Regions from separate parts of the Homo sapiens genome. Here region 2 is linked to region 1. The links are contacts of gene promoters, found by promoter capture Hi-C in blood cells and fetal thymus (Javierre and others, 2016). All regions are on one chromosome and are shown on one strand. Each heading gives the region's core, a stretch centred on a gene start or on the middle of the fragment in contact. The rest is flanking DNA. Distances are from core to core; before and after follow the strand shown. Region 1 holds the start of TMEM254 (transmembrane protein 254). Region 2 has its middle 30 kb from the start of EIF5AL1.

The links. The method cuts DNA at HindIII sites, captures the fragments that hold promoters and counts their contacts. A CHiCAGO score of 5 or more calls a contact.
Region 2: a contact is called between a fragment that was not itself captured here and the fragment with the promoter of TMEM254 in region 1, in 3 of 17 cell types (M0 macrophages, M2 macrophages and erythroblasts). The highest score is 7.4, in M0 macrophages.

Annotation. Positions count from the first base shown.
Region 1 is chr10:80,077,031-80,080,373 of GRCh38, forward strand. It overlaps TMEM254 (transmembrane protein 254), which reads left to right and starts at 1,635. Exons shown (of 4, transcript NM_025125.4): 1 at 1,635-1,756. The coding sequence starts at 1,670. It overlaps TMEM254-AS1 (TMEM254 antisense RNA 1), which reads right to left and starts at 2,163. Exons shown (of 4, transcript NR_027432.1): 1 at 1,697-2,163. The HindIII fragment of the contact is 2,319 bases long and covers 807-3,125 here.
Region 2 is chr10:79,480,629-79,483,971 of GRCh38, forward strand. No RefSeq gene overlaps it. Among named protein-coding and RNA genes, the nearest start is that of EIF5AL1, 30 kb to the right of the region's middle. The HindIII fragment of the contact is 2,563 bases long and covers 553-3,115 here.

The DNA.
Region 1 (3,343 bases), core at 385-2,884:
CACCCACTTGGGCATGACAGGACCCTGTGCTGTTTCTTCTTCTTTGAAATAAGGACAATAGTTTACTGCCTAGGATTGTTTTAAGAATTAAATTAGTTAATTATTGTATAGTACTTAGAACAATGCCTTGAACATAGTAGGTGTTCAATAAATACCAGCTACAGTATAGTAACTTTTTTTTTTTTTTTTTGACGGAGTCTCACTCTATAGCCCAAGCTGAAGTGCAGTGATTGGATCTCGGCTCACTGCAACCTCCGCCTCCGGTGCTCAAGCAATTCTCGTGCCTCAGCCTCCCAAGTAGTTGGGACTATAGACACGCGCCACCACCCCCAGCTAATTTTTTGTATTTTAGTAGAGACAGGGTTTCACCATGTTCTCCAGGGTGGTCTCGAACTCCTGAGCGATCCACCCACCTCGGCCTCCAAAAGTGCCAGGATTATAGGCTTGAGCCACTGCGCTTGGCCAGTAACCCATTTTTAAGGCCCAGGTGAAATAGTTTTTCTATTTCTATGATTTTCTATTTCTATGATTAAATAGTGTTTAATCAGACACTTCAGCTGCATATACCTCCCACAGCTCATTGATGATACAACAGTTCGCACAGGGCCTGGCACACATGCTAAAGGCTCAGCAGTATTGATAATCACCCACACTTACAAAGCACTATGGGCCAGACACTGCTGTGCTTTCTTTACAGATATCAACTCATTTAACCCACCCTAAAAACCCTGAGGTTCCCAAAACTGGCATATCCTCATGTTACAGATACAGAAACTAAGACACAGCCGGGCTAAGTAATTAATCTAAGCTTACACAAATAGCCGAGACAGAGCCAGGACTTAAATCCAGGCAGCCTGTTTCACAGTCCCTGCTCATAACCATGGTGCTGTATAGTTCCAAACATCTTAACTAATGAGGACAGCATTATTTCTCAAGGTGCACAGCACAGAGAACTTCAAAAATTAGACTCTTAGTAAAACACCATCTTTTTTTTTTTTTTTTGAGACAGGGTCTTGCTGTGTTGCCCAGGCTGGAGTGCAGTGGCGTGATCTGGGCCCACTGCAACCTGCACCTCTCAGGTTCAAGAGAGTCTTGTCTCAGCCTCTGGAGTTGCTGGGACTACAGGCAGGCACCACCGCGCCCAGCAAATTTTTTGTATTTTTAGTACAGACGGGGTTTCACCATGTTGACCACGCTGGTCTCAAACTCCTGACCTCAAGTGATCTGCCCGACTCGGCCTCCCAAATTGCTGGAATTTATTCCAACACCTCATTCATTCATTCATTCATTCGAGACAGAGTCTAGCTATGTTACCCGGGCTGGTCTCAAACTCCTGGGCTCAAGGGATCTTTCTACCTCAGCCTCCCAACGTGCTGAGATTACAGGGACACGCCACCGCGCCAGCCCGAACATCTTTATCTTAAACCCAGAAAAGTGACAGGAGTGTCTCCCCTACAAGATGATGACCAGCCCTCCAGACCTGAGCCCAGGTGTGATTCCAAGGCCCCTGTACTGGGGCCAGACAGGGAGACTCGCTCTCAGGGACTTCCCAACCAGCACCATCTTCTCCCTGCGGGGATGGCGAGGGAGCGCGGGCCGGCCCCGGCCCTGCCTCCGCGCTCGCGCTCGACGGTGTCCTGAAGCGCGCTCCCGGGGAGGTGTTGCAGCCATGGCTACGGCAGCCGGCGCGACCTACTTTCAGCGAGGCAGTCTGTTCTGGTTCACAGTCATCACCCTCAGCTTTGGCTACTACACAGTAAGGACAGCCGCTGGAGCGCTACGGTCTGACGAACGAGCGAGCGCTCGGTTCACCCCAGGACCTGGGCTCACAGGCCGCGGGCCGGGGGAAGTCGTGCAAGCACAATCCCGACTCCCGCGCGCTAGGAGCGGAGGGGAGGGGACCAGACTCCGCAATGAGAGCAAGCATACTGGTCCGCCAGGGTCTTGGGCGGGCGCCCAGGGCCCTGAGAAACCGGCTAGCCAGGCTTTTCTTATATGGGGGCGGGGACGGCTGGGGAGCTCCCAGCCAACTCTGTGTCTGGGTTTTTCAAGAGGATGGTGAAGTCGGAGGCCAGCAATGCGGCTACCGCCTATTTCCGTCCAGCAAGACCCTTGCCCTCTCTGGTCACAGTCCTGGGGCTGGGCTACTTCGCGGTGAGGCGTGGGGTGGGGCGGGGCGGGCCTCTGTTTTGGCCCGCCGGGCCCTCGTAGGGCGAGGGGAGCTCTGGGAACGGGGCCTGTGCGCACGCGCATCTGACGGTTGTCTCGGTTACTCATGTAAGCGGAAATTCGGTGGGCTCTTAGGATAGTTTCTGCTTTCTAGTGTTCCTGTCTTTGGGTCCTCACCTCTGCATGGTTACTAACGGGTTATCCGAGCCTAAGCCTCTCACGAAGCGGAAAGTCAAGTTAACAGACTGCCATAGGCCTGCCAAGTCAGAATAGGGCTTCCGAAGCAGAATGTTTGAGCCAATAGGAATTGTTTGGAAAACGGGGATAAATCTAAAGGATGGGTAGGATTTAAGTGGTAAGGGAGGATAAAGAGGCTATAACTGTTCTGACATAGGTGTGGAAGCAAGAAGAAAGCTGTACCTAGAAAAAGAGCGACGTTTGTTTGGCTGAGAAATAATCTGTTTAAAGGATAACGAGAAAGATGCGTGGAAAAGTAGGTTGGGGGCTAAGGTGGTAGTTTTGTGTTTTTTTGAGACGGAGTCTCGCTCTGTCACCCAGGCTGGAGTGCAGTGGGGCGATCTCGGCTCACTGCAACCTCTGCTTCCCAGGTTCAAGCGATTCTCATGTCTTTACCTGTAGCTGGGATTACACTATGCCCAGCTATTTTTTTGTGTTTTTAGTAGACATGGGTATTGGTGAGGCTGGCCTCGAACTCCTAACGTCAAGTGATAAGGTGGTAAAATTTTGAAGGAAGGCGAAGCTATTTGGGTATACCAATAGATCCTGGAGATTGGAGATTTGTCTTGTCCACAGTGTTGTTTGTTGGTGTCAAATCTGACAACCTATGTCCTGATTTCCCCATATGTACAATGGAGGTGTTGAACTGAAAATTTTCAAAGGTGCATTTCTGTTCTACGATTTAGTGTCTGTGACTAGTTAGAATATAGTTGGAGGAAAGCTTTGGGGACTTCAAATTGGGATCTTGTGGAGCTGGCAGATGCTCCCCTTTCCCTTTGGTTTGGGAGGATGCAGTGATATTTGTGCATTATTTAACTTTCAGATGTGAAACAACATCGTGAGAGAGGTAGTACTGCTCTTGACAAAGATTTGAATGGGACAATACATTTTGAAACTGTTGAGTTATTCTCAGAAAAGTCTTAGCTGACAGAAGTTA
Region 2 (3,343 bases), core at 584-3,083, 600 kb before region 1:
GGGAAAGAAAACTTCAAGAAAAACTGTCATTAATATCCTCAGAGAGACGAGAGAAATTGTTGCATAACTGAAACAAAAAGAAATGTAAAAATGAATATTCAGCAAACAAAAATAGACTTGGAAATTAAACACACAATAAGAATAAAAACTCACTAGATTAAGAGGATAAAAAGACATACCAAAGGCTGGGAGAAAATATTTGCAAACATATATCCTATAAAGAACTTATATTCAAAATATTCAAAAAACTCTTACAACTCAATAATAAGAAAACAAATAACCCAATTTAAAAATTGGTAAAATACCTGAAGAGTTACCTCTTCAAAGAAGATACACGGATGGTAAATAAGCAAGTGAAAAGATAATCAGCATCATATGTCATTAGGGAATTTCAAATCAAAATAGCAATGAGATATCACTTCATACCTATTAGAATGGCTAAAATCCAAACACCACAACCTGAAATGCTGGTGAGAACTGAGGCAACAGGAACTCTCATTCATTGCTGGTGGGAATGGAAAATGGCATAGCCATTTTGGAGAACAATCTGGAAGCTTCTTACAAAGCTAACCATATGAGCTTACCATATGATCTAGCTCCTTGGTATTTACCCAAATGAGTTGAAAACTGATGTCCACACAAAAACCTTTATACGAATGTTTACAGCAACTTTATTCATAATTGCCAAAAACTGGAAGTAACTGAGTTATCCTCCAATAGGTGAATTGATAAACAAACTGTGGTATATCCATATAATGGAATATTATTCAGTGATAAAAAGAAATGATTATCAAGCTATGGAAAAAACATGAAGGAACCGTAAATGTATATTACTAAGTGAAAGAGGCCAATGTGAACAGGCTACATACAATATAATTCCAAAATATGGCATTCTGGAAAAGACAAAACTATAGAGAAGCTAATAATTTCAACTGCCTAAAGTTTGGGGGTCAGAGGAAGGAAGGGATAAGTAGGAAGAACACATTTTTTCAGGGGATTGAAAATATAATATTCTGCATGAAGTATGTAATGGTTGATACATGACATATATTTGTCACAACCCATTGAATGCACAATACAAAGACTGAGCCCTTATGTAAACTAGAGGCTCTAGTTAATAATAATATAGCAATACTAGCTTATCAGGTGTGACAAACGTACCACACTAATGCATGATGTTAATTGGGGAAGTTGTGTGTGGAGGAAGAGGTGCTGTGGGGGAGCTCTAGATTTTCTGTTCAATTTGTCTGGAAACTTGAAACTGCTCTGGAAAGAAGATCTGCTGGCCAGGAGTGGTGGCTCATGCCTGTAATCCCAGCACTTTGGGAGGCTGAGGCGGGCAGATCAGGAGGTAAAGAGATCAAGACCATCCTGGCCAACGTGGTGAAACCCCATCTCTACTAAAAATACACAAATTAGCTGGGCTTGGTGGCTCGCGCCTGTAGTCCCAGCTACTTGGGAGGCTGAGGCAGGAGAATGCTTCAACCCGGGATGCGGAGGTTGCAGTGAGCCAGGATTGTGCCACTGCATTCCAGCCTGGGTGACAGAGCAGGACTCTGTCTTAAAAAAAAAAAATCTGTTAAGTTTTCAAACAAGAATGTGTAAATTTAAGAAAGAAAAAGATTCATTAGAAAGGAAAATGAAATTCAGAAACTCTGTCAGAAAGTAGAGAAAAAAATATAGACATTGAAATCAAGAAAGAAAAGATGAGAAAATCAAAGGACAAGTTCAAGGTCCAACATCTGACCAATAGAAGCACCAGAAACAGAGCAGAGAGAATGCTGGGGAAGACAGTCATCAAAAAATGACTCAGGAAATGTTCCTAGAACTGAAAGACATCCATTCTCAGATCAAAAAGACTCAGCAGGAGTCCTGCACAATTGATGAAAATAGATCCCCAACAAGAGACAAGATGATGAAATGTTGGAACATTTGGAGGAAGAAGAAGATGCTTAAAGATGACAGAGATACAAACAGGTTACATAGAAAGAATCAGTCATTGCGAGGGCATTAGACTTTGCCAGGCACACAGTAGCTAGGAGGCAGTGCAGGAATGCCTTCAAAATTTTGAGGGCAGATTATTTTCAAACTCAAATTCTATGTCCAGCAAAATTATCAATCAAGTGTGAGGGTAGAGTAAGAATATTTTTAGGTATTTGCCTCAACAGCCCCCACTTGCAGGAGCTACTAGAAGAAGCGCCCCACCCAAAATGAGGGTGTAAACGAAGAAAGAGAAAGACTTGGCATCCAGAAAACAGATGTAACACAAGAGAGACAAAGAACAAAGGCGAAAGAAGATCCCTGTGGCCAACTGTGCAGTGAGCCCGGAGACAGGCAGCCAAAGAGGAGCTGGTCAGAGGGGCCTAGAAGGAATTTTTCTAAAAAGACAGAAATGCTAGATTCTCAATTAGGGCTGAACACACTGAGAGGAGATTTACACAGCTGAATTAGTGTTTTGGCAGATAAAATGAAGTCTACAAAACATTAAAAAAAATAGAACAAAATGATAATGATTAATTCCAGAGGAGAAAATACTGTTTGGAAGAGAAAAAGTAACTGTGATATAATTTATGTCTCAGCTGTCGATAGTGTTTACACTATAATAAATGTGAATCCTGAAAATGGCTCTAACCAAAATTACAACAAAATCAGAATGGGAAGATGGGGGGCAGCACAGGAAGTGTGTGTGTGTGTGTGTGTGTGTGTGTGTGTGTGAGAGAGAGAGAGAGGGGTGGCAAAGAGGATAGGAGAGGTGTATGTCAAAGAGACCAGACTCTTATTTTTCACAGTAGAAAGTCCATTGGTAAGTCTTGAAATGGAAAATACAAAAAGTATCAACACAAACAAGTTATTTCGAAATATGAAAGTAAATACCAGAATAATTACTGTAAAAAGAGTTGAGAGTGATTGCCTCTGGGGAAAAAGAAACAGTGGGAACAGGGTAGGAAACTGGTTCTTGTCATAGCAAAAGAATAATTTGTCTTTTAAACTACGTCCATAGATAATTATGACAAAAGTAAAAACAAAAATAGAGAAAAAGAATAAGAGAAGAAAGAAGGCTCACACGTAGACTGTGCACCCACTCTCAGGTAGCACTATTACCAACACCTCCTCAAGCTTTGGCTCATTTAATCCCCACGTGGCACAGTTCCTGTTATCCAGGTGAGAAAAGAGGCCTAGAGACTCTGAAAACCTGCATGGGGCACACATCTAGCAAGAGATTTGCTCAATTCATCCGTCTCCCGGCTCCCCCAACTTTGGGCAACTCTTACCAACACATTATTTTTCTTCTGAGTTAGTTCCTGTAAGGAGGAAAGGTCTGGTCTTTTCCCAAAGCCTTCCT